Linked DNA regions of Homo sapiens: regions 2, 3 and 4 are each linked to region 1. Evidence: promoter capture Hi-C in 16 types of primary human blood cells and fetal thymus (Javierre and others, 2016). All regions are on one chromosome and are shown on one strand. The core of a region is centred on a gene start or on the middle of the fragment in contact, and the rest is flanking DNA. Distances in the headings are between cores, read along the strand shown. Region 1 holds the start of HOXA10-AS (HOXA10 antisense RNA). Region 2 overlaps LOC100506236 (a long non-coding RNA gene). Region 3 has its middle 52 kb from the start of MIR148A. Region 4 overlaps LOC105375199 (a long non-coding RNA gene).

Region 1 (2,743 bases), core at 141-2,640:
AAAATTAACCCTGGAGGAAACCCTGGCTCCCAATTTTAAGTGTCTGCAAATGGGCTGGGCATGTCTGGATGCCTTTTCCACGTTTTATGCCTGAGAAGACACTGATTATTTCAGTATTTTTTAAGTAAAAAAGCTGTTCCTTTAAACAGCCTTAGCCCCAAAATAAGAGAGTTACTGAACAATTAGCAGGCGTTGAGTGTTAAGCAGATGTTACTGGTGCCTAGAAAGCGGAGAAAAATCAGAAAACCAAATATTGTCTTCCTTCAGCCCAAAGGTTTGGAGCCAGAATAGTCTGACTTTTTTGTCTGCTTTTATTTTCGAAGTGAAAGAGATTGCGTATGCATAAAGAAATAATAAATGAGTATAATTTAAAGCGGCCCCTTCTCGACTGAGATTTCTGAAACTGTGATCTCTGAAATAAATCCAATGCCCTGGTCCAGAAAATGGCAGGGAGGAGTTGAAGGGAATGGGGTGTGTGGTCCTTTCAGACAGCAGGTCGGTGGCTGTGCAACGAAAGAGTTCCTGGGCCTCCAGTCCAGGCAGGGAAAGGAAACAGCTTTGTGGGCACGAATCTGTAACTGTGTGTGTTGGGAGTAGGGAGAGATAGTTTGTTTTCTGTTTTCTGTAGGGAAAATGGTCAGACTGGCTCCCATCTGTAGACTACAATTTGGAACGATGACTCAAGTTTATATCAATGGCTCTGGAATTTGGGATTCTTTTTGCCCATTTAAAACATACTGGCTCTTGGAAGGGTCCCCTTCTCCAGCACCCAGCTGCACAAAGGTGCTGTATGGAACATATTTTGTACCTAATGGAAGCCACTAGTAAGCAAGCAGTCAAGCTTTGCCCTAGCCAGTCTCCCTCAATGCGGTCAAACCCCAAGCTGTGACCGGCAGGCCGGGAAGAGCCAGCTAAGAGCTTCCCAGCGAATGGCCAGGCTCCAGCGAGGCTGGTTGGGCCTCAGCTCCAGTCCCCAGTGAGGCTGGCGAAGGCCTCCCTGCCCTCGATATGGGCACACAAAGCTGCAGCGAATGTCCCCTAATCAGATCTCCTAGTCAGCCGTTAGCGACAGGCGAAGAAACGCAAGGCTGCCGCCATCCGGTCGTGATCATAACCGAGGCCTTGTCTGCAGAGTAACACACCAGGCCCAAACCCACCGCCCTCGGCAGCCGCCCCACGCGGGCCCTTCCTCGGCAGACTTCCCAACCTCTACTTGAGCCGCAGAGGAAAGTGAGACCCCCTAGGCTCTCCTGAAGCCAGCTCTGGGCCCCTCCCCAAGGATGCTTTGGGAAGGAGATAAGGAGGTGAGATAGAATCTGGCAGAGACGGAAGATGAAAAAAAGACCAACGGAAGAAAAGAAAGCAGGAAGGAGCAAAGGAAAGAAGAAAAAAAGAAAGAAGAGATAAAAGAGGAAGGGAAGACAGGGAAAAGAAGGAAGAAAAGAGAGGCGACTCCTAGCAGCGGCCGAGCTTACAGAGAGAAGGGTAAGTGACAAGGCCAGGATCCCAGCCTGCCCTATCCTTCCTAGTCCAGCCTGAGTCTCCACTGGAAGGAGGTTCTTTCCTGAGCTCACACCCGGGACTGGTGTGTGTGTGTGTGTGTGTGTGTGTGTGTGTGTGTGTGTTCCAGCCTTACAAGAGAATGGCAGGAGGTCCCTGGGCAGGCGCAGGCCTCCAGTGGGAGGCTCAGGATGGAAGCGGGCGCCCCTGACCTTGAATGGCCCAAAGCCCAGAATTCCTACCACGCCCCCGGCGTCCGCGAAGGAGCAGCCAACCTAACCCTACCTGCTGTGACCAGGTGGAGGTGTGTGGTGGAAGGGGAAAGCCGGCCGGCTGGCAAAGCGCTGCGGAGAAAGACACGAGGCTCCTGAGCAGGGAAAGCCGAGGTTGCCACCGCAGGCCTGGCACGACCAGGGCCGTGATGCCCCGCCCGGCCCGACCCCCGCGCGCAGAGGTACCTGGAGACGATTTCAACTGAAGTAATGAAGGCAGTGTCGTGCTGTCGAGAGAAAGGTGGATCCCAACAACAGGAAACTACCTAAATCACCGACCAGTTCTGGTGCTGCCCGCGAAGGGCTGCCTCGCCCGCCGCCGCCGCCGCCTCCGCCGCTGCCGCCGCCGCCAAGGAGAGAACCCTGCCATCGCGCCTGGCCCGGCCCAGCCCAGCCCCTAGGCAACCTGCGCCCGCCAGTGCAACAGAGTGCCCCAGGCGGCCGCAAATGCGTCAAGGAAGGGGAAGCCACAGGCCCCAGTAAGGTATTCCTGGGAGGGAGAGGGAGGAAAAGAGAGGGAGGAAAGGCAGGGAGAGAGGAATAAAGGCGGGGAGCAGGCGAGACGAGAGCAGCTCCGAGAAGCAGTGTGCGCGCCGCTTTCCCAAATCTTGCAGCCCAGCGAGCCGGCGCCAAGAGGCGGTAGCCGTGGAAGGCTCGAAAGCGCCAGGGACGGTACAGATCCCGGCTCCCTGTCTGGCCCCGGCCTCCCGCCTCTCGCTCTCCCCCTCTCCCTCCTAGCTGCCCGCCCGCCGGGGCGCGCGCTCCTGCGCCCCCTCCCCTTAGCCCCCGCCCCCCCCACTCTGGCAAGCAGGAAACGCGTGGCCCTAAGGAGTGCCGCCAGGTGGGGGAGGCCGTACTGGGGGAGGGGGAGGCCCCCATGCAGTCCAGCCCGGGTCCACCTAACCGCTGCCTCCAGCGGCTAGAGATGCGCTGTGGGCCAGGCCTGCTCCCCGATTCAGATTGAGGGTCAT
Region 2 (2,743 bases), core at 119-2,618, 1.3 Mb before region 1:
TGATTGCTCAGAAGTTGTGTTTTCTGGCCTACTGAGAATCACAGGATCTTAGACCTGGCAAGGCCCTTAAAGAGCAGATTCTCTATTTACTGATGAGGAAACTGAGCCCCAAGAGGTGTTATCCTTTGCCCACGGGGACACATGACCCACTAGGAACATGTGTGCCAGCACCCCCAGCCCACCCCAGGACTGCCCCCCCATAGTGAAGCTGAATATGATCAGTTCCTTATGAAGAATTGAGAGACCTTCAAAAGGAAGTACCCTACATCCTGAACTTTTCAGAGAGATGGGTGGTGCAAAATGTTCAAGTGACAACACACGTGGAAAAAAAAAAAAAAAACCAAAGGCATATTTGGATCTTGCAGAAGGGTTTTCAGCAATACAAAGGCACAAGAATGAGAACAGCAGGAGTCCCACTTACCAGGAGCATTCCCTTAAAGCCTCATGTGTGCCTCCTAATAAATCTGCTTTTTCCTTTTTGAAGTTTAAGCGCTCCCTTATTGAGCAGTCTCCTGGTAGCCAGGAGTCCCCTAGGAAACAATTGTCTTGCTTCCAGTGCTGGGGCACTCAGACTCTTGGTTTGGTTTGGTTGGTTGGTTGATGGGTGATTTTTCCCTCCCTCTATCTTCTTAAAACTCCAGCCAGCATATAGGGGTTTTTCGTTTAGCTTCCTCAGATCCCCAGCCATTTCCCTAAAAGTCCATCCCATTAAACATGAAATCCACAGAACACACACCAAGCTACTTTTTCTCTCCCCTAATAAATCAGGTAAATTACCTCTTTTGTTTTTAAGACCATTTCAAGTTCGCCTTTAACATTTTTAGTTAAGGCATTATTTATGTTGTGATTTAATCGAGATTTAATCCACTTCTCAGCACACCATCGTATCGCAATATCCCTGAATTTTTTGCCCATATTATTAAACTTGAGGAGCACGGTAATGTTTTCCTCAGGCATGACACTGATCATTTCCAGATTGTGCATGTCTCTCTGGCTTTTTAACACACCTGAGTTTCTAAGGCCCACTAAAATAAATAACGGTTTGGTCTGCAAAGAACTGGGGCTGCATTAATAAATGCAGAGAGATCTATGTTTATCTCCACTTTCTGAAAACATAAGCGTCTTCTACAAATATGAGTATACACAGCAGAAATCATGTGAATCTCTTGGTAAATGTTTGCCTTCACATCCTGGGGTATGCTGCACACCAGATGGTTTGATCAAAACAAAATCATACACACACACACACACACGCGCACACACACACACACACACACACATGTTTGAGCACCATGCCTCCTCATTTTTGTGACTTTTTTTCTCCTTTCATGCATGAGAAAGAATGTAGAAATACTTAGAATAATGACCAGTATGTTCTGTGTTTACTGCTGCTTTCCCTCACTAGAGATTAACTCATAAAATTTTACTCCAAATTAAACAAACTGAGGCTCTCCTTGCAGCCAGTCAAACTGCCACTTATACCAAAGGAAATCTTAACTTCCATCTCTGAGAGTTTGAACGGCCACCCCTGCGGAAAGATAACAGGGTCTCTCTTTTCCTCTCTGTGTTCTGCGAGTCCTTGGAGGTGCCAAAATACTTGTCTGGACTCTGGCCCCCAGGGCACTTCATCTGCAATTAGAATGGAAACTGTATTTTAGAACATTAACATCTCTCCTGCTGTTTTTTTTTAATGATCTGATTGCTCCAATTATAGTTATTTAGAGAAATCGGACAGTCAAGGATTTTACCAGTAGGTAGGCAAGAAAGCACCTTTGACTGTGGCAGAGGACTTGCAAAGACAATTGTGTCTAGGAAAGACTTAGGAACTGTCTCACCATCCTGTCTTCTCAGCTGAAATTTCTCTGGGGATGATTAGATGTTGTCTTTGAAAAATCCAAATGGGAGAATGTGTATAAAACTACCCCGTTCTGTGCCTTGAGCACAGTAAGTTTTCAATGGACGTTAATTCCGTTGGAATCCCAGGCTTGAGACTGCAATCCAACGATGCATGTAAAAGACCTTGAGAAAGAAAACAAAAAGGCTCAAGGTCATGACCTCACCAGTCTTTTTGTCTTCCTCTCTATATTGCTCGTGTTTCACAGCCTTCAGCCCCAGTAAACAACATTTTTACCTGGAAGGAGCTTAGAGAGGACTTTAATTTTAGAGGGGCATTTACAAAGATCCTCTGATGCAAGCTCCCTGCTTCCTACTGCTAAAAGTCTGCTTCTTTTCAACAGTGCCCGCCTGGAGCCATGGTTGTGTTTTTGTGTGGTCTCATTCCTGTTTTATGGATTGTTCATGTACCCTGGAATCCCTGGGATACTTCAATTACAAAAATTACCATGTGCTGGGTTCCTTTCGGGTTGACAAGACTGCTTTCCTCTCTCTCTAAGCCGGGTTGTGTTTGTTTACATAGGAAATGTACTCTTTCTTAACATTCACTGTTTCAACATCCACTTAGATAGCTTCATTAAAAAATGGGTTAAAAAATAAAGAAGGGTGGCAAGAAAAGGAAAAAAAATACATCTTTCTATTTCAACCAAAAATTTGGTTCAGAACAAACTTGGAAAATCAGAGGATGTTTTTCTTTTCATCGCTGAAACAATGCTCTGCTTGTTCTCCCCGGGCAATGAGAACTACCCGGGCTTGGATCAGTGGGTCACATTGTGCAAAGTGTTTTTCCTGTTTAAACTATGTGCTTTCTTAAATGTTATCTTTTTGGAAGAAAATTAGATAACCTTAT
Region 3 (2,743 bases), core at 135-2,634, 1.3 Mb before region 1:
ATCCACTTCTGACACATATTCAATTTTTATAATGTTACATAGACAGTTTTTCTGGATTATATGTAATGGTTTCCAGCATTAGCTTCTCTGCTAATTGGAAACGTTGGGCATGGGAGCATACATATTCCAGTGGTGTTGAAGAAGGTTGCTTCCAGAATTGATCTAGCTATATTACAATTCGGGCACCATCAAAGAACCATTGGGTATTTTTCATGGCAAGCCTGCCATAAACTCACCCAGTGAGAACTTCTCAGGGCTTTCATTCTCCTGGCGTAAGTGGGTTTTTTCCAAAGCAGACCAACAGCTCTCACTTGAGAACTCAAGTTTTCCAGCTCTCATTTCCCCAGTCTGCCCCAAGCGAGTCAAACAGTGTCAGTACTGTCTCCCGCAGCACCTTGAGGGCTGGTGCCTGTGTTTTCCCGAAATGAGGGTAGACGTGGTTCATGCAGACTGGAGGAGAGTCCCTGAACTCACAAAATGTCTCCTCGGCCTTAATGCTTTCCAAGTTGGGAGATTTATGTTGCAACCTTGAGAAGGGCAGAGTAAATACAGAGCCTGCCAGCTATTTGTTTTCCTGTTGATGAATTCCCCAAATTCAGACTGGAAGCCCTCCAAGAACTGAAGTCTCTTCAAAAGGCAAAGTGTTAACCCTGAATCCTTCAGCTGCTTTTGCCACGTCTTTCTCCCCCACCCAGAAAGCTCCAAAGTATCTCTGAGGTTGTGTTCGCTGTATATGAAGCTCTCCGATGACTCTTCCTTTTTATCACACAAAACAAGCCAGGGCCAAAGACCACGGAGGAAGAAACCAGCTTACCACATGGTGCAGGGATCTTGCAAGAGCTTCTCCTAGTGAGGCTCCCTAGAGCCTCACTCCTACACATTCAGTATAGCTTTCTTTAGTCATGAAAGTGATTCCACTACCTAGTCAAACTTTGCTAGCTTGAAATATTTGCCACATGCTCTATTGCAATTGTGGTTTTCATCTTTAAATCATACATCCTTAATCTTCTCCTTGGAAATGTAACAAATTAGCACCATATTTTTGTTTGTTAGTTTTTCCTGAACATGAACCATACAGTTTATGAACCAATCTAGATAAAATGACCATTTTTAATCCCCAAATCACTCTTTATTTTTAGTGTTTAGTCTCACTGGCTGCTTTTATAATTTAAAAATTTTTAAATATAATCTTTTTTTCTGATTATAAAATTACATCTTATTTATAGAAAACATGGGAAATGGGTATTAAATGTAAAAAATTGTATTTGTAATCTCATTAGTCACAGTTAGGCCTTAACATTTTGGTATACATCTTGTTTCTCTGCTAGTTATTCTATCTGGATGATGACTTTTTTCATTTGATCTTATATAATAAATATTTTCACATTATTTCCATAATTTTTTTTTTTTTAAGACAGGGTCTCATTCTGTCACCCAGGCTAGAGTGCTGTGGCATGATCATGGCTCACTACACCCTTGAGGTGATCCTCTCACCTCAGCCTGCTGAGTAGCTGAGACCACAGGTGTGCACCAACATGCCAGCTAATTTTTGTATTATTTGGTAGAGACAGGGTTTTGCCATGTTGCCCAGGTTGGTCTCAAACTCCTGGGCTCAAGCAATCCACCCACCTCAGCCTCCCAAAGTGCTGGGATTACAGGCATGAGCCACTGCACCCAGAACCACAATGTTCTTAACTAACCTTTTATTGTTGGAATTATAAGTAGCATTCCAGTAAACATATTTCTATGTAAACCTTCGGCTAATATCACATTAATTTCTTAGGATAGATTCCTTTAAGTAGAATTACTGGGTCAAAGTGTAGAAACAGTATTAAGGTTCTCAATACATTTTGCCAAATTGCTTTTTCCAAAGGATGCATATCAGTTTGTGCTCCCACCACAGTGAGTGAGACTGGCTGGCTTGCTGTGCCCTCATCCACATCCAGGATAGCTGTGTTTGCCTCTGGGCCTACACAATAGACACCTCCACTGAAACAGGTGGTGTGGCCCAGGTTTGGGAAGGGCTTAGACTGGGAGTCAGGAGACCTGGCCTTGAATTTGGATTCTCCTATTATGTAGCTCTGTGACATCGCAGAAAACCCTTAGCAGCAAGAATAAAAATTGGGAACAGACTACCAAAATAAGGTAATGAACGTGAAAATGCTCTGTAAATGCAAAATATGAGGACTTATTATGGCAAGGCACCTATCTGTTGCTACTGGTACCTAAATTTCCGTGCTAAAATTAGAAACTGGGTTTATAATGTAAATTATAAACAAAAAATAAAATTTTATGGAAATATTGACTTAAGGTTTCCTTCTTAAATATAAGAGATAGGTGACTTTCTTATTAGCATACTTTCTCCCATCTCTTTCTGAGCTTACCCCCAAAAAATTCTGCAGCATCTGAATCCCAGGTGAGCCTGCCTAACTTTAATATGTGAAATAAAGTTGTATATTGTCTTGGATTATGCAAACTAAGCTGGTAATGAAAAGTGTTTTTTTTTTTTTTATTTTTATGTTTTAGAGACAGGGTCTTGCTCTGTCACTCAGGCTGGAGTGCAGCTGCATGATCATGACTCACTGCAGCCTCAACCTCCCGGGCTAACGTCATCCTTCTGCCTCAGCCTCCCGAATAGCTGGGATTACAGGCATGCACCACAAAATCTGGCTAATCTTTTATTTTTTGTAGAGACAGGATCTTATTATGTTGCCCAGGCTGGTCGACAACTCCTGGGCTCAAG
Region 4 (2,743 bases), core at 127-2,626, 1.2 Mb before region 1:
AACAAGAAAATTTTGTATCAATTAACAAGAGACAAGCTTAGGGGAAGAAGTGCTTCCTGAACATCACCTGCAGACTAGACTATAGCACTCTTGTGGGATCCCAACAAATACGTCGTCCACCCCGCTCCCAACTATTTAAAGAATATTTGAAAGCACTCGAATTCTTTGGCATAAACACTCTTTGAAATGCAAGTTATGTCGAATCCTAGAATTTTACTTCTGGAAGATGTGGTGGGAGATTATATAAAATGGGGAATCAGTGACCCAGCACCATGGCTTCCCAGCTCCTCTGCACGCCCCCCCATATTTCCCAACCCTTGCATTTGAAATTTAAAATGTTCTTTAAAAAATTAAAGGCTTTCAGTGTTGAGTGATAGTCACGCACTGCATAAGGATATTTCAGTCAACAATGGACCAAATATATGACAGTAGTCGCGTAAGATTATAATGAAGCTGAAAAATTCCTACAGCCTAATGATGTCACAGCTGTCATGTCATAGCATTTTTTTTAAATATAGTGTAGCCTAAGTTTATAATATTTATAAAGTCTACAATAGTGTAACGTCCTAGGCCTTCACATTCACTCACCACTCACTGACTCACCCAGAGCAACTTCTAGTCCCACAAGCTCCATGCATGCTAAGTGTCCCATATGGGTGTAACATTTTTTACATTTTATATTGTATTTTTACTGTACCTTTTGTACGGTTAAATAAATCCTTACCATTGTGTTACATTTGCCTACAGCACTCAGTACAGTACCATCCTGCACAGGTTTGTAGCCCAGGAGCACTAGGCTATGGCATACAGCTTAAGTGTGTGGTAGTCTCTACCACCCAGGTTTAAGAACACTCACTCTGTGATGTTTGCAAAAACAATGAAATCGCCTAACACCACGTTTCTCAGAACCTATCCTCATCATTAAGCAATGCATGACTAAAGTTTCAGCTGCACCTGTTTGGTTCATTCACATAAAGTATCTAAAATAAAGACAGGAGTGCCAAGGCCATGCAAAGTAGGTTGCTAGTGATGGTTTCCTTTGCCCAGCGATCTGGGTTAAATGAACACCACGGCCTCCCCAGCGTTCCTTGTTCTTCCTTCCCTGACGTTTATCACCCTTCTGATTATTTTATATTTGTATTGTCTACCTCTTGCATGAGAAAGACCTCCAAGAGGGCAGGGTTCGGGGCCTATTTTGTTCACTGTTGCATTCGTAACGTCTAGAGTAACACCTGATGCTCGGGAGGTGAAAATACACTGATTGCTAAACGACTGAGGTCTATGAGACCATGCCAGGTTTACAGTAAGCACCCCAAGACTGCCGATTTTCCCAGTTCCTATTCCTGGCATCCTTAGCACCAGAGTAAACCACAGCCCTCCTGCTTGGTTAGTCCTTAACTCACTTGTGGTCACAAACAGGAGAAATGCAAATCACTTAAGCATAGAAGTCAAACCAGACTGAATCATGTCAGGGACTCCAAACCTTGCCTTTCTCTGGAGGTGAGAGATCCTGACCTAATTCCTTTGTATGGATGACTACTCTCCCAGTCAACCGCTCCACTCTTTACCTCCCATTCTCTTACAAAGTTGATTTAAGTTTTCTTAAAATTCAGTATATTCAGACTATCTTGTGGAGATGTACAGACATAAGAACTAGGAAAGAGAATCCTCTTCCTCAAGTAAGCATACCTTACATCTCAAATGAACACAAGACGTACTTGAGTTTGGATCACTTTATTTAACTGCACAGAAATAATTCAGCCATTTTTGGGTAAAGGATTGAGGAACAAAAGCAAAGCAGTCACTGATGGAAAAGTGGGAGAATGGATAATGGCCACACAAAAGAGAACACATGCTGCCTTAGGATCAATACACAGCATTTCTGTGAAAAGCAACTGGTAGGTCCTGCCATTAAGCTCTAACATCAAGCAGCTGAATACTTTCTCCCTCATTGAGCCTTCCTCCATTATCATCCCTCTCCCGATGATAAACCACTGGAATATACCTAAGTAAAAAAAATGGTGGCTTTCTTTACCAAGGGCTTCCCAGAGACACAAGCAACCCCCAGGTTTCTGAAGCATCCCATAAAATACATCAGAAGGCCCTTCCCTTACCTGTCAGCACCACGGGCACAGGAACCATTTCCTTTTTTCCCTACCACCCTGCGTCCTGTGCCTGGCCAAAAGCTCATAAAACCAAAACAGGGCAATGTCCATGGAACAGGACTACAATTTGGTGCCAGTCACTGACCCACTATAGAGAGCAGGCTATTGATAGAAACTCACCAACCCAAACCTCCATTCCACTAGGGATGAGAGAGCAGTCTCTCCACCTAAAGGATCTCCACAGCCCAAAAGCATAAATGTCCCCCTCCCCCAGTGGCTTTCAAAATGCTTTCTTGGAAAAAGTTCTTCCTTTCCATTAATAAAACTTACTTTAAAAAACAAAAGTGAACTGCATCTAAATCGGAAGCAGAATTGAGACTAGATCTCCAAACTCAATCCCTGCAGGCTGTCATTTATCCAGCAGGTCGCTTGAGTAAAAGGACCATTATCTGTGGCTTTTGTACAAATACATTTCCTTCTTTAAGGGTAGAGAGTTTAAATTCCTGCAAGGCACTGCACACTAACACACCCATTAATAAATCTGCAGCTCTCCTGGCTCAGTTTAAGTGAGGCCAGTCTTTCAGTACCTGTTAAGCAACCTTGAAAAGTCCAAAGCTTTATTTTTTTCTTCTTTAAAC

What was found. Contacts are between HindIII fragments. The CHiCAGO score rates a contact against its expected background, and 5 or more counts as called.
Region 2: a fragment that was not itself captured here is called in contact with the fragment with the promoter of HOXA10-AS in region 1 in 1 of 17 cell types (naive B cells); the score reaches 8.1 in naive B cells.
Region 3: a fragment that was not itself captured here is called in contact with the fragment with the promoter of HOXA10-AS in region 1 in 12 of 17 cell types (M1 macrophages, monocytes, fetal thymus and 9 more); the score reaches 10.6 in M1 macrophages.
Region 4: a fragment that was not itself captured here is called in contact with the fragment with the promoter of HOXA10-AS in region 1 in 1 of 17 cell types (fetal thymus); the score reaches 5.3 in fetal thymus.

What each region holds. Positions count from the first base shown.
Region 1 is chr7:27,167,509-27,170,251 of GRCh38, forward strand. It overlaps HOXA10-AS (HOXA10 antisense RNA), which reads left to right and starts at 1,391. Exons shown (of 3, transcript NR_046609.1): 1 at 1,391-1,485; 2 at 1,799-2,256. All of the region lies in intron 1 of HOXA10-HOXA9 (HOXA10-HOXA9 readthrough), which reads right to left. MIR196B (microRNA 196b) reads right to left here and starts at 2,055; the gene lies at 1,972-2,055. RefSeq lists enhancers at 1,076-1,666, 1,667-2,257. The HindIII fragment of the contact is 2,254 bases long and covers 840-2,743 here.
Region 2 is chr7:25,829,931-25,832,673 of GRCh38, forward strand. LOC100506236 (a long non-coding RNA gene) reads right to left here. Exons shown (of 3, transcript XR_108752.5): 2 at 1,836-2,019; 3 at 1,361-1,629. Among named protein-coding and RNA genes, the nearest start is that of LINC03007, 41 kb to the left of the region's middle. RefSeq lists an enhancer at 170-742. The HindIII fragment of the contact is 4,145 bases long and covers 1-2,743 here.
Region 3 is chr7:25,896,886-25,899,628 of GRCh38, forward strand. No RefSeq gene overlaps it. Among named protein-coding and RNA genes, the nearest start is that of MIR148A, 52 kb to the right of the region's middle. The HindIII fragment of the contact is 3,378 bases long and covers 1-2,743 here.
Region 4 is chr7:25,946,939-25,949,681 of GRCh38, forward strand. All of the region lies in intron 6 of LOC105375199 (a long non-coding RNA gene), which reads right to left. Among named protein-coding and RNA genes, the nearest start is that of MIR148A, 1.7 kb to the right of the region's middle. RefSeq lists an enhancer at 1,089-1,158. The HindIII fragment of the contact is 2,684 bases long and covers 35-2,718 here.